Regions from separate parts of the Homo sapiens genome. Here regions 1, 2 and 4 are each linked to region 3. Evidence: promoter capture Hi-C in 16 types of primary human blood cells and fetal thymus (Javierre and others, 2016). All regions are on one chromosome and are shown on one strand. Each heading gives the region's core, a stretch centred on a gene start or on the middle of the fragment in contact. The rest is flanking DNA. Distances are from core to core; before and after follow the strand shown. Region 1 has its middle 8.1 kb from the start of TUBA1C. Region 2 overlaps TUBA1C (tubulin alpha 1c). Region 3 holds the start of RHEBL1 (RHEB like 1). Region 4 holds the start of RND1 (Rho family GTPase 1).

What was found. The method cuts DNA at HindIII sites, captures the fragments that hold promoters and counts their contacts. A CHiCAGO score of 5 or more calls a contact.
Region 1: a contact is called between a fragment that was not itself captured here and the fragment with the promoter of RHEBL1 in region 3, in 4 of 17 cell types (monocytes, M0 macrophages, erythroblasts and 1 more). The highest score is 8.2, in monocytes.
Region 2: a contact is called between a fragment that was not itself captured here and the fragment with the promoter of RHEBL1 in region 3, in 1 of 17 cell types (M2 macrophages). The highest score is 5.6, in M2 macrophages.
Region 4: the fragment with the promoter of RND1 here is called in contact with the fragment with the promoter of RHEBL1 in region 3 in 2 of 17 cell types (non-activated CD4 T cells and activated CD4 T cells); the score reaches 6.1 in non-activated CD4 T cells.

The regions. Positions count from the first base shown.
Region 1 is chr12:49,254,313-49,259,636 of GRCh38, reverse strand. It overlaps a transcript of TUBA1C not described here. Among named protein-coding and RNA genes, the nearest start is that of TUBA1C, 8.1 kb to the left of the region's middle. RefSeq lists an enhancer at 2,460-3,177. The HindIII fragment of the contact is 2,741 bases long and covers 2,119-4,859 here.
Region 2 is chr12:49,273,846-49,279,330 of GRCh38, reverse strand. TUBA1C (tubulin alpha 1c) reads right to left here. Exons shown (of 4, transcript NM_032704.5): 4 at 4,731-5,485. Among named protein-coding and RNA genes, the nearest start is that of TUBA1C, 12 kb to the right of the region's middle. RefSeq lists an enhancer at 1-448 and a silencer at 5,051-5,345. The HindIII fragment of the contact is 319 bases long and covers 2,717-3,035 here.
Region 3 is chr12:49,067,018-49,072,427 of GRCh38, reverse strand. RHEBL1 (RHEB like 1) reads left to right here and starts at 2,449. Exons shown (of 8, transcript NM_144593.3): 1 at 2,449-2,694; 2 at 3,322-3,393; 3 at 5,393-5,410. The coding sequence starts at 2,643. RefSeq lists enhancers at 2,006-2,055, 2,426-2,735 and a silencer at 2,286-2,405. The HindIII fragment of the contact is 17,864 bases long and covers 1-5,410 here.
Region 4 is chr12:48,863,650-48,868,933 of GRCh38, reverse strand. RND1 (Rho family GTPase 1) reads left to right here and starts at 3,064. Exons shown (of 5, transcript NM_014470.4): 1 at 3,064-3,286; 2 at 4,064-4,151. The coding sequence starts at 3,167. RefSeq lists enhancers at 2,741-2,870, 3,131-3,250. The HindIII fragment of the contact is 16,374 bases long and covers 1-5,284 here.

The sequences.
Region 1 (5,324 bases), core at 2,240-4,739, 190 kb before region 3:
CATCACAGAGTGTACATATGCAAACCTAGCTTATTGCTCCAAAGCTAGAAACTTGTGCAGCCTGTTACTGTACTGAATACTTAGGCGATTGTAACTAGATGGTATTTGTATCTAGGTTGGGCGTGGTGGCTCATGCCTATAATCCCAGCATTTTGGGAGGTTGAGGCAGGCAGATCACTTGAGGTCAGGCGTTTGAGACCAGCCTGGCCTACATGGTGAAAACCCAACTCTATTAAAAATACAAAAATTAGCCAGGCATGGTAGTGTGTGCCAGCTACACAGGAGGCTGAGGCTCAAGAATCGCTTGAACCCGGGAGGCAGAGGTTGCAGTGAGCCGAGATCGCACACTGCATTCCAGCCTGGGCGACACAGTGAGACTCCGTCTCAAAAAAAAAAAAGAAAGTATTTGTATCTAAACATAGAAAACTTATGGTAAAAATATGGTATAAAAGATAAAAGATGGCACACCTATATAGGGCACTTACCATGAATGGAACTTGCAGGACTGGAAGTTGCTTAGTGAGTCAGTGGTAAGTGAATGTGAAGGCCTAGGACATTTAAAAAAATTTTTCATTTTTGGCCGGGTGCGGTGGCTCACACCTGTAATCCCAGCACTTTGGGAGGCCGAGGCAGGTGGATCACCTGAGGTCAGGAGTTCGAGACTAGCCTGACCAACACGGAGAAACCCCGTCTCTACTAAAAATACAAAAAAGTTAGCCAGGCGTGGTGGCACATGCCTGTAATCCCAGCTACTCGGGAGGCTGAGGCAAGAAAATTGTTTGAACCTGGAAGGTGGAGGTTGCAGTGAGCCGAGAGTGTGCCATTGCACTCCAGCCTGGGCACCAAGAGCAAAACTCCGTCTCAAAAAAAAAAAAATTTCATTTTTGAATTATTTATTTATTTACTTATAGCCGGGCATGATAGCTCATGCCTGTAATCCTAGCACTTTGGGAGGCCAAGGCGGGCTGATCACCTGAGGTCAGGGGTTCGAGAGCAGCCTGACCAACATGGCGAAACCCCATCTCTACTAAAAACACAAAAATTAGCCAGGCGTTGTGATGCACACCTGTAATCCCAGCTACTTGGGAGGCTGAAGCAGGAGAATCGCTTGAAATAGGGAGGTGGAGGTTGCAGTGAGCCCAGATCACACCAGTTCACTCCAGCCTGGGCAATAGAGCGAGACTGTCTCAAAAAGAAAAACAAAAAACAAAACATAAATAATTTTTATAAAAACAAGGTCTCACTCTGTTGCCCAGGCTGCTCACAAACTCCTGGGCTCAAGTGATGCTCCCTCCTGGGCCTCCCAAAGTGCTGGGATTACAGGTGGGAGCCACTGCACCCAGCTGACCTAGGACATTATTGTATACTACTGTAGACTTTATAAACACTGACACTTAGGCTACATTAAACTTGAAAACATGTTTCCTTCTTCAATGATAAATTAACTTTAGCTTACTGTAGCTTTAAAAATTTGTAAGGCCAGGTGCTGTGGCTCATGCCTGTAATCCTAGCACTTTGGGAGGCTGAGGTGGGCGGATCACTTGAGGTCAGGAGTTCACAATCAGCCTGGCCAACATGGTGAGACCTCACCTCTACTAAACATAGAAAAAATTAGCCGGATGTGGTGGCACATACCTGTAATCTCAGCTACTTGGGAGGCTGAGGCAGGAGGATCACTGGAACCCGGAAGGCGGAGGCTGCAGTGAGCCAAGATTGTACCACTGCACTCCAGCCTGGGCAGTAGAGTGAGACTCTGCTCAAAAAAAAAAAAAAATTGTAAACTTTTTTTTTTTAAACTTTTTGTCTCTTGTAATAACACAGCTTAAAACACATTGTACAGCTGTACAACATTTTTTTTGAAACAGGGTCTCCCTCTGTCACCCAGGCTGGGGTGCGCTGGCATGATCACGACTCACTGCAGCCTCAACTTCCTGGGCTCAAGCAATCCTCTCGCCTTAGCTTCCTGAATAGCTGAGGTTACCGTGTGCGCCACCATGCTTGGCTAATTTTTTGTATTTTTTGTAGCGAGAGGGTCTTGCTGTTGTCCAGACTGTCTCAAACTCCTGGCCTCAAGTAATCCTCCCACCTTGGCCTCCCAAAGTGCTGGAATTACAAGCTTGAGCCACCTCGCCTGGCCTGCAAACGTAAAATTAAAAAAAAAATAAATGCCTCTTCCTGCCCCCATTCCTCAGCCCCTCCACTGCTAGTACCAGTATCTGCATGCTAGGTGTTCATCCCTGGACTGAGGATTTTAAATGCTTTAACTTATTTATTCTTCACGATAATCCTATGAGGTAGACACTATTGTTACCTCCATTTTACAGGAGAGGAAATGGAGGCTGCCTGGCTTTGGGAACTGCCCTGAGGTCACACAGCAGCGCATGTTGCCTTCAGTCCAGCCTTCTTTGGAATCCCAACCCTTCCCTCAGGAGGTTGGCTTTAAGGCCTTCATTTCTAAACCACTGTCTTCTTTTTTTTTTTTTTTTTGAGATGGAGTGGCTTGATCTGGACTCACTGCAACCTCTGCCCCCTGGGTTCAAGTGATTCTCTTGCCGCAGACTCCCAAGTAGCTGGGATTATAGGCGCCCACCACCATGCCGAGCTAATTTTTGTATTTTTAGTAGAGACGGGGTTTCATCATGTTGGCCAGGCTGGTCTCAAACTCCTGATCTCAGGTAATCCACCCGCCTCAGCCTCCCAAAGTGTTAGGATTACAGGCGTGAACCACCGCTCCTGGCCTAAATTACTGTCTTCTCTCCAAGAACATTAATATAGAACCACTTTTATATCTACAACTTTAATTACATGTTTATTTCCCCAAATCATCAAAATCTGCAATGTCCCCAAACCCCTCAGGAGATTCAGTGAAGGAAGGAGGCTGGAACAGGGTTCTAACAGATGAGGGTCTGCACTTGCAGGCCTCTGTTTTTACAACACTTTGCTGTTTTTGATCCTCTAGTCCATATACCTTTTTCCTTACCCTCCAGCATATTTTGTTCCAATGGAGTCAGGAATATAAGCCCTTTAGAACCCCTGAAAGTTCTTTGTGTGTTTCTGATAGATAAAGATTTCCTCATTTTAAAGTACATAGTTCTCTGTTTTGGTCAGTTTCAGTCCCCACTGACCTTGTAAATGGGTGATACGGAACAGCCTGTAACTACAAAATCGACTTCTTATCCAGTTCCCTCAGCTGCTCCATTTATATGTACGGAACCCAAGGGACAGAGCTGGGTTCACACACTGTGGAAAAGAAAAAGAAGAAATAATTTTTGTTCAAAACAAAGAAACAAATTTTAAATTCACGCTGTTCTTTCTCTTTACTCTGCACGAAATGACTGATAATAAACCAAAGTTGTTTCAGAGGAAAAAAAAATTATCCTGGAACAGAGATCACCTGACAAGCTACACAGCCTGTTTCGCTGATGCTCACTTGCTCAGTTGCATTGGGGGTTTCATGGCCTTTGGTCAAGGCCAGGAGGGCCTAACCCCAAGCACACTAGTTTCTTTTAGTGTTGTTCGTTTGTTTGTTTTTGAGACAGGGTTTCACTCTCTCACCCAGGCTGGAGTGCAGTGGCACCACTGTAGCTCACTGCAGCCTCAACGTCCCAGGCTCAGGTGATCCTCCCACCTGGGCCTCCCAAGTAGCTGGGACTACAGGCACGTGCCACCACACCCACTGGCCTCAGCCTCCCCAAATGCTGGGAATACAGATGTCAGCCACCACGCCCTAGCCTCAAGCACATTGCTATGGAAGCCTAAAAAGATAAATCTGGCTGGGCGTGGTGGCTCACGCCTGTAATCCCAGCACTTTGGGAGACTGAGGCCGGCGGATCACGTGATGTCAGGAGTTCCAGACCAGCCTGGCCAACATGGTGAAACCCTGTCTCTAATAAAAATATAAAAATTAGCCAGGCGTGGTGGCAGACGCCTGTAATCCCAGCTACTCCAGAGGCTGAGTCACAAGAATGGAGAATCGCTTGAACCTGGGAGGTGGAGGTTGCAGTGAGCTGAGATTGCGCCACTGCACTCCAGCATGGGTGATAGAATGAGACTCAGTCTCGAAAAACAAAAAGAAAAGACGAATCTACCAGGTAGAGTGGTTCATGACTGTAATTCCAGCACTTTGGAAGACCAAGTGGGTGGATCACATGAGTCCAGAGGTTTGAGACCAGCCTGAGCAACATAGCAAGACCTCTATCAGAGAAATATATATATATATATATATATATATTTTTTAAAGATAAGTTCAGCTGCTGGGGAAAGTGGTAGTTGGTTTCTTAGCAAGCAACAGAATCATTTTGACCTTTAAAGACAAGGACAAGATAAAATACAAAGGGAAAAGCACTGCAGAGTAAGGAAAGTAAAGATTAGAATAACAAAATACTGAATTAGACTATTCACTGTAAACTCTCAGAGCCATTATAATTACTAGGAATTCTGGCTTATAGTGTGATTAAATAGAGTAACCTTGGCAAGGTCCGTAGTTGTATTTTGGGTGAGTTTCTCCATCTGCATTTGGTGTGAGGATAAGACTTGCTCTAAAACAGCCTGAGGTCAGGTGCAGTGGCTCAAGCCTGTAATCCCAGCAATTTGGGAGGCTGAAGTGGTAGGATCACTTGAGCTCAGGAGTTTGAGACCACCCTGGGCAACACAGAGGGACCCCGTTTCTACTTAAAAAATAAAAAAAAAATATATGTGTTTTGCCTCTGCACCAAGTTCCTGACACAGAGCTCCTAAATCCTTGGAACTTCCTGGGTGATGGGAGCATCTTTTGTACTAATGAGGGTCTCTTGGTGTCTTGCTGGATAGCTTCAGGATAGGGTCTGGTCACCAGAAAGACAAAGTCATGACTAGAAGCTTGAAAATTTAGCCACATCCCCCATCCTCCAGGGAGGGGAGAAGGACTAGGGATTGAGTTAAAAACTGATCATGCCTACGTGATGAAGCCTCCATAAAAATCCCTAAACTACCGGGTTCCCAGAGTTCCAAACTGGTAAACAAGAACATATCCACTTGCAGGAGGGTTGTGCACCCCAGCTCCACTACACTCAAAGGACAGAAGCTGCTGCACTCAGGAGCCTTCCATACCTCACCCTATATATATCCTCATTTGACAATTCATTTCCCGTTTTTTTTTTTTTTTTTTTTTTTTGTTTAGATGGAGCCTCGCTCTGTTGCCCAGGCTGGAGTGCAGTGGCATGATCTCGGTTCAATGATGCAGCTTCCACTTCCCAAGTTCAAGTGATTCTCTGCCTCAGCCTCCTGAGTAGCTGGGATTACAGGCGTGCACCACGACACTCGGCTAATTTTTTCTTTTCTCTTCT
Region 2 (5,485 bases), core at 1,627-4,126, 210 kb before region 3:
AGGTGCGGTGGCTCACGCCTGTAATCCCAGCACTTTGGGAGGCCAAGGCAGGCGGATCACAAGGTCAAGAGTTCGAGACCAGCCTGGCCAACATGGTGAACCCTCAGCTCTACTAAGAATACAAAAATTAGCCAGGAGTGGTGGCGGGTACCTGTAATCCCAGCTACTCAGGAGGCTGAGGCAGGAGAACTGCTTGAACCCGAGAGGCGGAGCTTGCAGTGAGCTGAGATGGCACCACTGCACTCCAGCCTGGGTGACAGAGCAAGACTCTGTATTGGAAAAAAAAAAAGAAAGAAAGAAAAACAAACAAAAAACTGGAGATGATTGCCAGAATAGTATAATTGGATTACCTTTGCCAAGGGCATTTCAGTATTTGTTTACTCTTGGACTAGACATCTCTTGGAAGCCAAATGAGATATTTGATAAAAATAGAGAAGTGTGGCCGGGCGCGGTGGCTCACGCCTGTAATCCCAGCACTTTAGGAGGCCGAGGCGGGCGGATCACGAGGTCAGGAGATCGAGACCATCCCGGCTAAAACGGTGAAACCCCGTCTCTACTAAAAATACAAAAAATTAGCCGGGCGTAGTGGCGGGCGCCTGTAGTCCCAGCTACTTGGGAGGCTGAGGCAGGAGAATGGCGTGAACCTGGGAGGCGGAGCTTGCAGTGAGCCGAGATCCCGCCACTGCACTCCAGCCTGGGCGACAGAGAGAGACTCCGTCTCAAAAAAAAAAAAAAAAAAAAAAAAAAAATAGAGAAGTGTGCAGAGAGGGTGAAGGGAGAGAGAGTGGGGTTGAATTTATACCCACCCTCTTCCATGAGTTAAACTAATTTCTGTAGACAAAATCTTTGTGTAATTAGGAAATCTTTATATTCTGTAAAACCTTTATAGTCTGTTCCAATTAAAAAAAAAAAAGGCCAGGCGCGGTGGCTCACGCCTGTAATCCCAACACTTTGGGAGGCCAAGGCGGGCGGATCACAAGGTCAGGAGATGGCCAACATGATGAAACCCTGTCTCTACCAAAACTACAAAAATTAGCTGGGCGTGGTAGTACATGCCTGTAGTCCCAGCTACTTGGGAGCCTGAGGCAGGAGAATCACTTCAACCCGGGAGGCGGAGGTTGCAGTGAGCTGAGATCACACCACTGCACTCCAGCCTGGCGACAGAGACAGACTGTCTCAAAAATAATAAATAAATAAATAAATAAGAGAGAGAGAGAAAAAAAAGTCCAGTAGGGAGACGACTGTTTAAAAGCATTTTTTGTATTATGACTAAAGCAGACATGTCTCTAGTTCTGGAAGGTTCATTGATTCTGACTATTGCTCTCCTGCTGTAGACTCGGAGGGAGTGTAGAGGAGGAAAGAACTGTTTTCCCAAAACCTGCTTGGGGCTGACAATGACAAATTCAGGGGCACTAGGTTCTTGGCATGAAAGGGGCAGTGACAGGCTAATGAGATGTCAGCAAAGGGGACCTATTTCACGGGGCGAGGGCCCACTCCTGCTCCACAGCCCCCACACCCAAGGGTCTATTTTCTCTTCAGCTTCTGCTGCCTTGTGTCTCCTAGATAGTCGCCCTGGCATTGGGCTCCTGGAGCCATCTGCCTGGGTCATCTCTGCCAGCTTCACCTTGCCGCCTCAGCTGACGGGCACTGACCACTCTGGCCCTGGAGCATAGAGGAGCGAGGCTCCAGGTGTACACTGTCCTGCCTGTGCCTCAGCTGGTGTCCCTGTTGGCAGGAGACCAGGCAGGTGGCAGCAGCCATCCTGCAAGGGCACTGTATCTCCCCGTGACCTGAGAACTGAGTTCAGAGGGAGGCCTGGACAAAAATGCCCCCTCACTAGGGAAGCTACAGCCTGGACATGGGGACCAGCTGGCTTTGCTATTTAAGGTCAATGGGCTGCCACCTGGGCCCAGGAACGGGGCTCTTGGGAGGTTTTCTGACAATCACTGGCATAATGAGATCTCTCTGTGACTACAGCTCCATCCAGTGCTCATGTGAGGGCTGGCCCTTGTTGACCTCATGCCCCAAGGGTCCTGGGAGGTGGCACTATCCCCCCAGGACTGGAAAGGCTGCCAGGTGCAGAGCCGATTTCCTCTGGAGCTCCTCGATGGCTGGACGACAGAGTGGAGTCAGCCTAGGCTTTAGAGCCAGAGCTCTGCGGTAAAATTTCAGTTCTGCCACTCATTCTGTAGCCTTAGGCTAGATATTCAATCTCTGTGAGCTATGGAAGTGGGTATAATAACATCACCTCCCAGGGTACTGTGGAAACTGTGAAGGCACCTTTTCCTCCCACCCTGACAGCGCCTCCCCTGACCTCCTTCAGCCTCACCCAGGACTGCCACACCACCTTCCAGCAGAGGCCTGAAGACTGATTTGTAATTGCATAACCCACTTGGCCATCCTCTGGCCTGACAGATTCCTGCTGGAGAAGAGTCACTTGCCAGCTGCTTCCCAAACACAGAATGACAGGTGGACAGGCAGGCCCTTAGCCCCTCAAAGTCATTATCCCCCTTCTCATCCCTGCCCAAAACACCTCTGCCCAGACATGCTAACCTCTCAGTGGTCAGCGGCCTCTGTGGGGGGAAGCAGGTTGCTCCTCTGGCCAGGTTAGGTGAGGGCAGACTAAGCCCTCTGTCCACACAGCCGGACCTGGGGCTGCCGCCAGCCTCAGGAGCCCGAATCCTCTTAGGCTGTGTGCATTTATTCCCATCAAGCTTCAGCGGCCTCAGCATCAGCATCAGTCGCAGCTCTGGGTCCAGACTTTCCATTCGTGCTCAAGGGCAGATCAGATGATTGTCAGCCACAAAGCAGTGACCTAGACCTTGGGGTATATTTGTTCTTGCTGCAGGCTAACTTCTATTCACTCTCCCTCCAACGCAGGAGGGGGAAATCATCTTTACAAGGACAAATGCCCCCCCAACCACTGGCACTTTGCTCTTCCAATTCCCCAGGCTTTATTCTACTGGAATATTTCTTCTCAGCTAAACTTTTCTCTCACCTTCTTTCACCCCAGACCTCTGTGGCTGCTTAAAGCTTTCCAACCTTTTTCACATCTTGGCACATGTAGAAAATAATTCATCTGTAAGGTGTACAGAGGTAAATGGAGGGGGCTACTCCTGGCCAGGGTGACTGGCCCCAGGGAGGATGGGTGAGTCAGGCTCTCCAGTTTCCACCATGTCATTCTAAAAGCCGAAGGGATCCTATATGGGCACCCTGAATCCTATTCTCAGGGCACCCTGCTTGGGAAATGCTGGTGTCATGGGGTGTCACACTCGCCTAAGCTTTGTGATTTATCTGCTCCTTTTCATACACGGGTGTCCCATTCCCATTTCCTCCAGTGCTTGCACTATGGCAATCAGCAGATCTCCTGGCCTGGGAAGGTCTCAAAATCCCCTCTGGCAGGCTAGCCAGCGTCTTCAAGGTTCACCTTCATTTCAGGCATCCCACCCCGCTCCCCTGCCCAGGCTGCAGGAAGAACCTGGCTCATCTGAGAAGTAGCAGTGGCTGAATTTGTGCTGGGGTCTTACCTTGCCCCGAAGGACATAAAACTATGGTTGCTCTCGACAAATGCTATATAAAACCATCCAGAGCACATAGTTGAGGCATCTCAGGCTGCAAAAGCATGCTGTGCTATGCACGCAGGTATAATATATACATTTAAAAAAATTTGAGACATAAAAAAAAATTTAAGGGAAAAAAATTTTTTGTCCCTTAGGCTGGAGGGCAGTGGCACGATCTCAGCTCACTGCTACCTCCACCTCCCAGGCTCAAGCAATCCTCCCACTTCAGCCTCTCAAGCAGCTGGGACCACAGACGTGCACCACCATGCCCAGCTAATTGTTTGTATTTTTAGTAGAGATGGGGTTTCACCATATTGCCCAGGCTGGTCTTGAACTCCTAAGCTCAAGTGATCCACCTGCTTCAGCCTCCCAAAGTGCCGGGATTACAGGCGTGAGCCATGGTACCCGGCCAAAAAAATGCTCAAAATAGACAGGGTCTCACCCTCTTGCCCAGGCACTGGTCTCAGACTCTTGGGTTTAAGCAATCCTCTCACCTTGGCCTCCCAGAGTGCTGGGACTGCAGCTGTGAACCCCAGCGCTGGCCTTAAACATGCACATCTTTCAGATGCAATTCTCAGAGCAAAGGGGCTAAAGTGAGCAATGGGTAAGGGATACAAAACACCTTTGGGAAAGAGATGGTAACTGGGTACACATCAGAATAAAGTAAGTCACGGAGGAGAGGTGAGTATGCCTGCAACTCTGCCCCCAGGGCCCATCTGCTACCACTCATTAGGCATTCCCACTCAGGCAAGCACCCAAGCACCAAAACTGATTCCTCCCTTCTGCATGAAGCTTCACCTTTTGGTCATTGTCCTTTCCCATTGCTTAGTTCAACTGAGTACCAGGCACCAAGCTCTCCAGCTACGTATAACACTCATGCCCCTTCACCCGTCTGCCCCCAAGAACCACGGTCCTCCAACAGGTGCTTGGAAAAAAGTCCAAATCAGAGAACTCACCCCTCTCCAATCTTTCCTACACATACATATTACTCCTACTTCAAATAATCTCCATGACATACAATTGGGTCAAATGCCAATACCAGAAAAACCGGTGACTGTTATTTTGTCTGACATTTCCACTTTCTCTAAACAATAACCCCTTTAGTACGAACCATCTTTGCCACTGTAGGTCTTAGCTAAGTATGGAATAAATCAGGATTCCAAGCCCTTCTCGTGTGACTAATACTTTATTAAAGACTGACAGCAATAGTTCTGGCAGTGTGGCTGGGCACTTGAATTTTGGCTCCAGCAGTTACTGTTATCTAACCCTTTGCTACTGTACATGTGGTCACATCAGACCAACAGCATCATTTGGGAGGTTATTAAAAAACGTATCTAGGGGCCAGGTGTAGTGGCTCACTCCTGTAATCCCAGCACTTTGGGAGGCTGAGGCAGGATTGCCTGAGCCCAGGAGTTCAAGGCCAGCCTAAGCAACATGGCAAAACCCCATCTCTACCAAAAAAAAAAAAAAAAAAAAAAAAAAAAATTACAAGAATCAGCCAGGCATGGTGGAACACACCTGTAGTCCTGGCTACTTGGGAGGCTGAGGTGGGAGGATGGCTTAGCCCAGGTCAAGGTGGGGGTGAGCTATGATGGTGCCATTGCACTGCAGCCTGGGAAAGAGACCATCTCAAAGAAAAAAAATTTAAGACGTGTCTGAAGCCTCACCTCAAGCCTATAGAATTAGAACCTGCATTTTGTTTTTAAATTTGAGAGTCAGGGGTCTCCGTCACCCAGGCTGGAATGCAGTGGTGCAATCATGGCTCACTACCTCAACCTCCTTGGGCTCAGGTGGTCCTCCCACCTATAGGCAGGTGCCATCACAGCATGCAAATTTTTGTTTTGGTAGAGATGGGTTTTCACCATGTTGCCCAGGCTGGTCTCGAATTCCTGGGCTCGTGATCCACCCAACTTGGCCTCCCGAAG
Region 3 (5,410 bases), core at 1,200-3,699:
TGTTGGAGGAGGCAGCTGCCTTGAGAGGTACTGTGACCTTCAATGGGGGACAGAGCCACTCTCCTCTGTCCATTGAATCTTCTGTGTGTGCTTTCCTTTGGCTGAGCTTCACTGAAAGCCAGGAGACAAGGTCTGCCTCCTGGACATAAATCTGGGTGGAAAAGAATGGAGAGTTCATATGGACGGGACAAGCAGTATAAAAGGCATCTGTTATTTATTTCTGTATCCTAGTGTGCAACACATAGTAAGAGTGCCTGGCACAAAGTAGAAGATGAATATATATATATATATATATATATATTTTTTTAAGATGGAGTCTCACTCTGTCTCCCAGGCTGGAGTGCAGAGTACAATGGTGCAATCCCGGCTCACTGCAACCTCTGCCTCCCGTGTTCAAACGATTCTCCTGCCTCAGCCTCCTGAGTAGCTGGAATTACAGGCATGCACCATCACGCACGGCTAATTTTTGTATTTTTAGTAGAGACGGGGTTTCACTATGTTGGACAGGCTGGTCTCGAACTCCCGACCTCAAGCGATCCGTCCACCTCAGCCTCCCAAAGTGCTGGGATTACAGGCATGAGCCACCATGCCCGGCCTAGGGCTTTTGTGAATATTAAATGAGATAACAATAAAATGCACCTGGCACATAGTATAGTCGAACTCTCTATAAATCTAGGTGATTTCCTTCCTTTCTTCCCTCCTCTACCAATCCTTCCACAAGTCATTTTAACCTTAGCTTCAGAATATCCTGAATTCTCAACTTCATTCAACATGATCACTCTAGTCAAGCGCTCTCATCTCTCACCTGGACTACAGGTAACAGTTTCCTCGCCAATCTCCCTGCTTCCTTTTGCTCCTGTTACCCTCAAACCCCAATCTATTCACTACAGCCAGGGAGATTTTTTAGAAAGACAATTTAGATCATGTCATGCCCCAGCTTAAATACCTTCAAGTACTTAGAATTAGCCCAGACTCCTTTATGTGGCCTGGCCTCTGCCATTCTCTTAGACTTCATCTGCTTTAGGCTAACTGGCTTTCTTTTTTTCTTCCCCTCTTCCTGGAATTTACCCAATTTATTTCCATCTTAACGCCTTAGCATTGGTGGATTCTTCTTGTGAAATCTCCTAGTTGGTTCCTTCAGATCTTAGTTTAAATGGGGTTTCCTATGAGAGAAAGTATCACTAAAGTGGTCATCTCAGCCAGGCTCGGTGGCTCACGTCTGTAATCCCAGCACTTTGGGAGGCCGGGTCAGGTGGATCACTTGAGGCTAGGCGTTCGAGACCAGCCTGGGCAACATAGCAAAACCCCATCTCTCCCCAAAATACAAAAATTAGCCAGTCTCATAACCCTGTCTCAAAATAAATAAAGAAAAAAAATTAAAAATGCTGTATTGTCTTTAAAAAATAAAGTGGTCGGCCGGGCGCGGTGGCTCACGCCTGTAATCCCATCACTTTGGGAGGCCGAGGCGGGCGGATCACGAGGTCAGGAGATGGAGGCCATGCTGGCTAACACGGTGAAACCCCGTCTCTACTAAAAATACAAAAAATTAGCCGGGCGCGGTGGCGGGCGCCTGTAGTCCCAGCTACTCTGGAGGCTGAGGCAGGAAAATGGCGTGAACCCGGGAGGCGGAGCTTGCAGTGAGCCGAGATAGAGCCACTGCCCTCCGGCCTGGTAGAAAGAGCGAGATTCCGTCTCAAAAAAAATAAAAATAAAAATAAAAAAATAAAAAAAATAAAGTGGTCATCTTTCATCACACCATCTTCTACAGCACTTAACACTCTCTGATATTTCCTTGTTGTATGTTTGTTTCTCCCTTCATAAGAGCAGACACATTGTCTGTGATGTCCATGTTCTGACCCCAAAGCTGGAGCAATGCCTGAAACATGTAGTATATACTCAGTATTTGTTGAAAAATGAATATTTGAGGATCATGATGATGAAGAAGAAACCTCAGACTACTTGATCATAAATTCTAGCAATTTCTGCAAGAATAAGAATTGCAGTTTGAAATTAGATGCTGGAAGACTGGAAACCTTGATAGGTCTGGGGCTGAAGGCTGGGGGAAGCAGAAGGAATATACTAGAACTTTGGCGGTTTTCTCCCTATCTAAGGACCCCAGAGACCATGCAAAAGGGAGGGCTAGAATCTTATGACCGGAAACCACAAAACGGGTATTTTCCATCCATAATTCTTCGAAGCCACTTCAGCTAGGCTGTAAATGCGCAAACGCCTTTAGGACCCCGGGTTCCTTTCTGTTTCTTTATGAATGAACCGGCTCCAGTCTGCGCACGCGCAGCTCCCAGTTCTCCCGCTCCACGTGAGGCCCACCCTTCCCTCCTGCTGGCGGCACCGCCCTTACCCATTCTAATGGACCAATGGCGAGCGGCCTGGGGGGCGGAGCCCGGCGCGGCGCGGCTCAGTAGTTCCCCGGGCGCCCGGCTCCCTGGCGTTAGACGTGCTGTGTTGTGATCACGTGGGCAGCTCCGGGCGCGGCGCTTGTTTTGGTTTCCTTCTAACTTGCCCACGGCAGCTTCGGGGTGAGCGACTTTCCTGCACCAGCTGCCGCGCCTGCTCACACCCTGACCTCGTTTTCGGGCTCTCTGAGCCCGCAGTTCCGCAAGCCCCTGGGGCGGGCTCCTGCCATGCCGCTAGTCCGCTACAGGAAGGTGGTCATCCTCGGATACCGCTGTGTAGGTGAGTCTCCGCCCTGCAGAGCTCGGACGCGCAGCAGCTTTGTAGCCAGAAGAGGCGCGCTGCCGTGGGAACGCGACCCAGGGAGGAATGATGACATCGTAAGGATGGGGTTGTAGAGCGAGGATTGGAAGAGTGGAGGAATGGAAGAGTGGAGGATTGGAAGAGTTGGTGGTGTGTGGAGGCTGCAGGAAGCGGGAGCACTTAAGGGTTAATGCGGACCTGGCTGCGGGAATCTCAGAGTGGTCCCAGCGTTACTTTGGGGATAGGGGTGGGGTCACAATTTGAAAACCGGGACGCGGTCTCCGTGGGGACAGATAGTCGCAGGTGTCCTGGGGCGGGGCGGACTTGATCCTAGGGAATCTTGGATCTTCCTACGAGTGGGATGGGGTGGGGAAGGCGGCGGGAAAGGCTTCCTGCTGCGCTTCTGAATGCATCCGGTAGCCAAAGTGCGGAGACCCTGGGTGAAAAGAGGGTGAGGGTAGACACAAAGGATAGCATTGCTTGAGGCACTCACAGACTGTGGTGTTAATTTGGGGTCTCCTTTGGTCCTGGGCCACAGTCCGAAAGGACAGAGGATGTGAATGTGGATGGATGATTTGGATACAACTGTCACACTGCTCCCCACAGGGAAGACATCTTTGGCACATCAATTTGTGGAAGGCGAGTTCTCGGAAGGCTACGATCCTACAGTGGAGAATAGTGAGTAGACTTCTCCCCTAGTGTGCTGGTGGTATGCGACCCGGAGGGCTTGGATACCCCACCCAACTCCATAATTTATTTCTCTGGTGCCAAGGGGCTGATTTATTTAGACATTACATCTGATTTCTTCTTTAGCAATCCTGTTCGATGGATGGCTAGAGTATGGATTTTGCAAGATATTGAGTCTGGGATAGTTTAGATGTAGACATTAAGAACCTTAGCGTGTCTTTCCAGTTACCTGGATAACTCCCTGGAGCTGATCTATCTGTGTCACCCCCAAGGTTAAGAATGTAAGGGGAGGCTGGGCGCAGTGGCTCATGCCTGTAATCCCAGCACTTTGGGAAGCTGAGGCGGGCGGATGGATTGAGGTCTGGATTTCGAGACCAACCTGGCCAACATGGTGAAACCTCATCTCTACTAAAAATACCAAAATTAGCTGGGCATGGTGGCGCACGCCTGTAATCCCAGCTACAAAGGAGACTGAGGTAGGAGAATCGCTTGAACCCAGGAGGCAAAAGTGGCAGTGAGCCAAGGTCGTGCCACTGCACACCAGCCTGGGTGTCAGGGTGAGACTGTCTCAAAAAAAAAAAAAAAAAAAAAAAAAAGCTGGGCACCGTGGCTTATGCCTGTAATCCCAGTTCTTTGGGAGGCCAAGGCAGGTGGATCACCTGAGGTCAAGAGTTCGAGACCAGCCTGGCCAACATGGTGAAACCCCGTCTCTACTAAAAATACAAAAAATTAGCCGGACATGGTGATGGACATCTGTAATCCCATCTACTCGGGAGGCTGAGGCAGGAGAATTGCTTGAACCTGGGAGGCGGAGGTTGCAGTGAGCCGAGATCGTGCCACTGCGCTCTAGCCTGGGCAACAAGAGTGAAGCAATGTCTCAAGAAAAAAAAGAAAAAAAAAAAAGAATAAAAAGAATGTAAGGGGGAAGGGAGTGGGAGGGATGAAGATAAATTGATCAATGGGTACAAATATATAGTTTGATAGAAGAAATAAGACTTAGTAGATCAGTAGGGTGACTATAGCTTACAATAAGCTATTTTACATTTCAAAATAGCTAGAAGAGAAGAATTCAAATGGTTCTAGCATAAAGAAAAGCCAAATATTTAAGGTGATGAATATTCCAGATACACTTATTTGATCTTTACAAATTATATGAATGTATTAAATTGTCACATGTACCCTGAAACTTGGTACATCTATTATTCATCAATAAAACAAAAGTAATTACTTTATTTTTCTTTTCTTTTCAAGACAGTCTCGCTCTGTCACCCAGGCTGGAGTGCAGTGCCGCAATCTCAGCTCACTGCAACCTCCACCTCCTGGGTTCAAGCAATTCTCACGCTTCACCCTCCTGAGTAGCTGGGACTACAGGCATGCACCACCATGCCCAACTAATTTTTTGTATTTTTAGTAGAGACAGGGTTTCACCATGTTGGCCAGGCTGGTCTCAAACTCTTGGTCTTAAGTGATCCGCCTGCCCTGGCCTCCCAAAGTGCTGGGATTACAGGTGTGAGCCACTGCGCCCAACCAATAATCTACTTTAAAAAATGCTGCCAAAAAAAAAAAAAAAGGTAAGGAGACAGCCAGGTGCAGAGGTGCACACCTGTAGTTCCAGCTACTTGGGAGGCTGAGGTGACAGGATTGCTTGAGCCCAGGAGTTCCAGGCTATAGGGTGCTAAGAGTGCGCCTGTGAATAGCCACTGCTCTACAGCCTGGGCAACATAGCAAGACCTCATCTCAAAAAAAAAAAATGTAATTAGCCGGGCATGGTGGCAGGTCCCTGTAATCCCAGCTACTCGGGAGGCTGAGGCAGGAGAATAGCTTGAACCCGGGTGGCAGAGGTTGCAGTGAGCTGAGATCATGCCACTGCAGCCCAGCCTGGACAATAGAGTGAGACTCTTGTCTCAAAAAAAAAAAAAAAAAAAAGTCAGGGGACATACATCGCTGGTCCTATAAGGCACTTCACAGTCAAGTTTTCTTTTCTTTTCAGCTTACAGCAAGATAGTGA
Region 4 (5,284 bases), core at 1,815-4,314, 200 kb after region 3:
GAATCGCTTGAACCCGGGAGACGGAGGTTGCAGTCAGCGGAGATTGTGCCACTGCACTCCAGCCTGAGCAACAGAGCAAGACTCTGTCTCGGAAAAAAAAAAAAAAAAAAAGAGGATGCATAGGAACTCTACTGATGCTTCCAGAACTAAGCCCAGATGAGACTGAAGGTAGGGGACAGGAGGATACAGAAGGAGAAGGTCAGGCTGAGGGAAAGGACTCCAGATTGAGGCAGTCTATGATCTTACAGCTGTTCCTGGAACTATCCCAAACCCCACTTATAGACAGCTCACAGAGGCTGTCAGGCTGCTGGAAAAGGGCAAGAAGAGGACAAATTCTATCCACAGAACATTATCTGAGGGTGGAGGATGAGGGGAGATAAAGGGCAGAAACCTTCAGAAAGCCTGGGAGAGACGGCAGCCAGCTAATGGTAACATCTGGCCTTTCCACCCTGAAGTTTCCCTCAGGCCATTCCCCATCCCTGGAAGTGAATGGAGCTTAGGACATGGGTGGAGAGCAGGTATAGGCCTTGGCCCCAGAGCCACGACGAGGTTTGACTGGAGGAACACTGGTTAGGCTGTATTCTCAAAACAACATCCACTCTCCTACTGCCTGTGGTGGGCACTAGAAATCTCATTCTTAGAGATCTGTCCCTTTGGGTCTGTGAAAGGCTTTCAAGCATCCTTTATCACAGGGAAACTATCCCTGGGTGGGGCAGCAACAACTGTGAATTAAGAGTAAAGCTCAGGCTGGGGCACAGTGGCTCACGCCTGTAACCCCAGCACTTTGGGAGGCCGAGGCAGGTGGATCACCTAAGGTTAGGAGTTTATGACCAGCCTGGCCAACATGGCGAAACCCCATCTCTACTCAAAATACAAAAATTAGCTGGGTGTGGTGGCAGGCACCTGTAATCCCAGCTACTCGGGAGGCTGAGGTAGGAGAATCGATTGAACCCGGCGGGCACAGTTTGCAGTGAGCCGAGATTGTGGCACTGCATTCCAGCCTGGGTGAAAGAGCAAGACTCTGTATAAAAAAAAAAAAAAAGTAAAGCTCAGATGAAACAAGGCCCAGGAGACACTGGGCTTGACAAGGGAAAGGGACTACTCTCAATTTTGCCCAAAGTTGGTCTTCCTTCAATCACAAATCTCCAGGAGCCCTTATTTGTACGGTCTTGATTCCTGGACAATCAGTGGTTTATTTAAGCTGTGGACAGCCCATAGTTCTGTCTAGTAGAGGCTCCCCAAAATACAGGGGCCCCATCAGTCAGGGCTGTTAAGAAGTTATGAAGCTCGGCTGGGCGCGGTGGCTCACGCCTGTAATCCCAGCACTTTGGGAGGCCGATGTGGGTGGATCACTTAAGGTCAGGAGTTTGAGACCAGCCTGACCAATATGGTGAAACCCTGTCTCTACTGAAAATACAAAAATTAGCCAGGCATGGTGACGTGCGCCTGTAGTCTCAGCTACTCGGGAGGCTGAGACAGGAGAATTGCTTGAACCCGGGAGGCAGAGGTTGCAGTGAACTGAGATCAAGCCACTGCACTCCAGCCCGGGTAACAGAGCGAGACTCCATCTCAAAAAAAAAAAAAAAAAAAATTTATGTAGTTCATCTCAACCTTAGATTGTCCTCCAGCTTCTAATCCCAAAATCCTGGGCCCAGTCTGGACTTTAACCAGGTGACACACATTAGTGCGTCAGTTTCAGTGGGCGTTAACATGGAACTGGACCTGTGCCTGATTCATCCAGGAAGCTGAGCCTAGGCCGCAGAACAAACACCCCTAAGCAGCTTCTGCTAGGCATGGGTGAGAGGCTGTCTGGCCAAACAGTGACTGTGTTTGCTTTGTCTTCTTCCTCTCTCCCACCCCCACTTGCCAGAGTCCCTCATTTCTCTCTGCCCATCACTGGGTCAGGTGCTGTGTGTTTTTTTTATGGATGACTCTAGAAAGTTTTCTCTTTCTCTTTCTCTCTCTCTGTCTTTGGTGGTGAAGGTGATTCTTGAAGAAGAGAAGGCTTTAAAAGGGGCACAGGCCGGGCACGGTGGCTGACGCCTATAATCCCAGCACTTTGGGAGGCCAAGGCGGGCGGATCGCCTGAGGTCGGGAGTTCGAGACCAGCCTGACCAACATGGAGAAACCCCGTCTCTACTAAAAATACAACATTAGCTGGGCATGGTGGTGCATGCCTGTAATCCCAGCTACTCGGGAGGCTGAGGCAGGAGAATCGCTTGAATCCGGGAGATGGAGGTTGCAGTGAGCTGAGATCGTGCCATTGCACTCCAGCCTGGGCAACAAGAGCGAAACTCCATCTCAAAATAAATAAATAAATAAATAAATAAATAAATAAATAAATAAATAAATAAATAAAAGAGGTACAGCAGGAGCTGATATTGGGAGGGGAAATAAAGGGAAGTAAGAACTGGTTTGGATGGGAATTAGAAAAAACAAAAAAGTCAGACATCAGGCCAGGCGCTGTGGCTCATGTCTGTAGTCCCAGCACTTTGGGAGGCTGAGACAGGCGGATTGCTTGAGCCCAGAAGTTCAAGACCAGCCTGGATAACATGGTGAGACCCCTGTCTCTATTTAAAACAAAAGATGTAAGGAAAAAAAAGAAAAAAAATGTCAGAGAAGTTCTGGGCCACCTCCCCCATCCCCTACTCCTCCAAAACACACACACACACACACACCTGTCTATAGTCTAAGCAGGTCCTGCTTTTGTAACCCACCCGGGACAGTCCCTGCAACTCCAGCCTGACCTCACTTCCTGCTTCCATAGCTAGTTTGTTTTTCTGACACTTATTGGTAGACACTCCAGATCATTTCATTTTGCTTCCAGTACCCTTTCCACTTCCTAATACAAATGCAAAACAACCTGGGAATCCCCTTTCAGGGGGAAACAACGGTGCAGCTTTAAGAGAAAGAGAAGGGAGGAAGGGGGCGCTGACTCAGATCCTCAGATCCATTGGCTGCTGGAGGGAATCCCACCTCAGGGATTGGGCGTAACAGAGTCCGCCTCCTCTTGTGATTGGCTCAGCCAGAAAAATAAAAGGCGGCTGTGCCGGCCTCCTCCTCAGTTGGAGGGAGGCAGGGAATCTGGCTTGATTGGCGTGCTGAGACGCACCTGGCGCAACCCTCCCTTCTGAATCGAAGTTCAAGTCCCGCGGACACTGCAACCATGAAGGAGAGACGGGCCCCCCAGCCAGTCGTGGCCAGATGTAAGCTCGTTCTGGTCGGGGACGTGCAGTGTGGGAAGACCGCGATGTTGCAAGTGTTAGCGAAGGATTGCTATCCAGAGGTGAGCTGCCCGCCCGCCCGCTGGCCGGCTTTTCTCCCTGCCTGCCCGCCTTGGGGTAGATTTCCACCTGCTCAGGAGACGTGGCTCCCCCAGCCCCAGCCCATCCTCAGCCGCTTTCTGAGGCTTTACCATCCTCAGCTGCTTTTTGGCTGGAGGACTGCCCTGCCTTAGCTTCCCCTGAGACCTGTTCCACTTCTGCCGCCCCGCTGGCTCCTCCTCACCTCTTCACCCAGAGGACCCATCAGATCCCCTCCACCTTCCTGCGTCCCTGGAGTCTGCTCTCAGGTGAGGGCACTGGAGGCATTTGAAAGTCTGGGGTTTCTTCTTGACGTAATCCCTGCCTATCCGCTCACCTGCTCCTCAAAGGCTCTATGCCTGTGCCTTCAGGCAGGCTTCTGCAGCCCCTCTGTTCACCTGGCCGGGAGGGGTTTGAGAGGAGATGAGCTAGGATTGGCTTTGGCCTGTGGCTCTCTCAAATTGGGAAACACAAATCTGGGGATGGGAGGAATCTGTGTGTGTGTGTGTCCCTGATCGCCTAGGATATGGGGGGCTTACCCCTGGTGTGGTGGTGTGGGGGGGTGTCATTCACATTTCTCACTGCTGCAGAGCAAAGTGCCTGGTCCTCCACAGTCCCTTCCCTCCTGCCCCAGGCATCTCCTCTGGTTTCTTGTCTCCTGTGACTTTACTGTCTCTCTGGTGAGTGCGTGTGTAGCCAGCACTAACCAGGGGATCTGAGGGTAGGGGTGCATGGGGTGAATGTTTCCTCTCTTTTCACAGACCTATGTGCCCACCGTGTTCGAAAATTACACAGCCTGTTTGGAGACAGAGGAACAGAGGGTGGAGCTTAGTCTCTGGGATACCTCAGGTAAGAATTCTGCTCCAAATACCCCTTTCCCACCCCTACTGGTCTGCTGTGTAGCTGCTGTCTTTTAGAAATTGTTTTCCCCTTTGGTGGGGAGAAGTGAAAAAAGAGGATCTGAAGACTCATTAGTTGTGGGGAGGGCTGACAGTTGGTGGACTCAGTTGCATGGTCCAAGGGTGCAGAGTGGGTGAACCCCAGGAGCCACTCTCTTCCCTGGGTCTGGTTCCACCCTTTAGAGGGCTGGGATGGTGAGGTGAAGGGACCCATGAATAGTCCTGGGGGTGGGCAGTAAAACAGGACTTCTCCATTTCCATTCCCTACCACCCAACATGCACGCGTACACACATGCACACACACGCGCGCGCGCGCACACACACACACACACACACACACACACACACCTTTTACTTCCCCAGAGCAAAGCCAAATAAGAGGCAAGAGGCAGTGCTGCTGGAGGCAGCGTGGTTGGGGCGGAGAGACAAGTCTGCTTTGGGGAAAGGTTGCTCAGACTCAGTTTTGTCTCCTGCATTCCATCTTGGGCCACTGCTGTCCTCCTGCCGCAGCTCAGCCCCACTCGTCACACCGCTGCAGCTCGGGGATGAAGCAATGCATCATCGATGTTTTGGAAGTTGGGGGAGATGGCTTAATATAGGGCATAGTCAGTTGTGAATAGTGGCCGGCAGGGCAGAGGGGAGGTTGGCTCTGACTGTTTTCCCTCTACTGGGGTGAGGTAGAATATGCCCTGTCTCTCTAGAATGTAGAAACAATGTTTTTCCAGCCTCTCAGCCCCAAGCCCTTAGTGCTAGGCTATCCTTTGCCTTGATTCTGACCCCTTCCCATTATCTCTTTACCCCAGACCTTTTTCAATAGACTGGCTCAGAGTCATAATTAAGGAGTAAAAGCCGGGAATAAGAGAAAGAAAATAAAATCCACCCCTCCCCAAAAATGCATATTCAGGCTGAGTTTAAAAAGGGACCGTAAATCACTAGGTGTTTCCTGCTACATATAATAAATATGCTGTCCTGCTCCTTCAACAGCTGTTGTTCCCATGCTCTAATTCTGAGGTCTGAAAAGATTGGGGCTAGGGAATGGTTAGACAGACAATGAGCCTTTCCTCCCCAAACAAAAATTCCCCA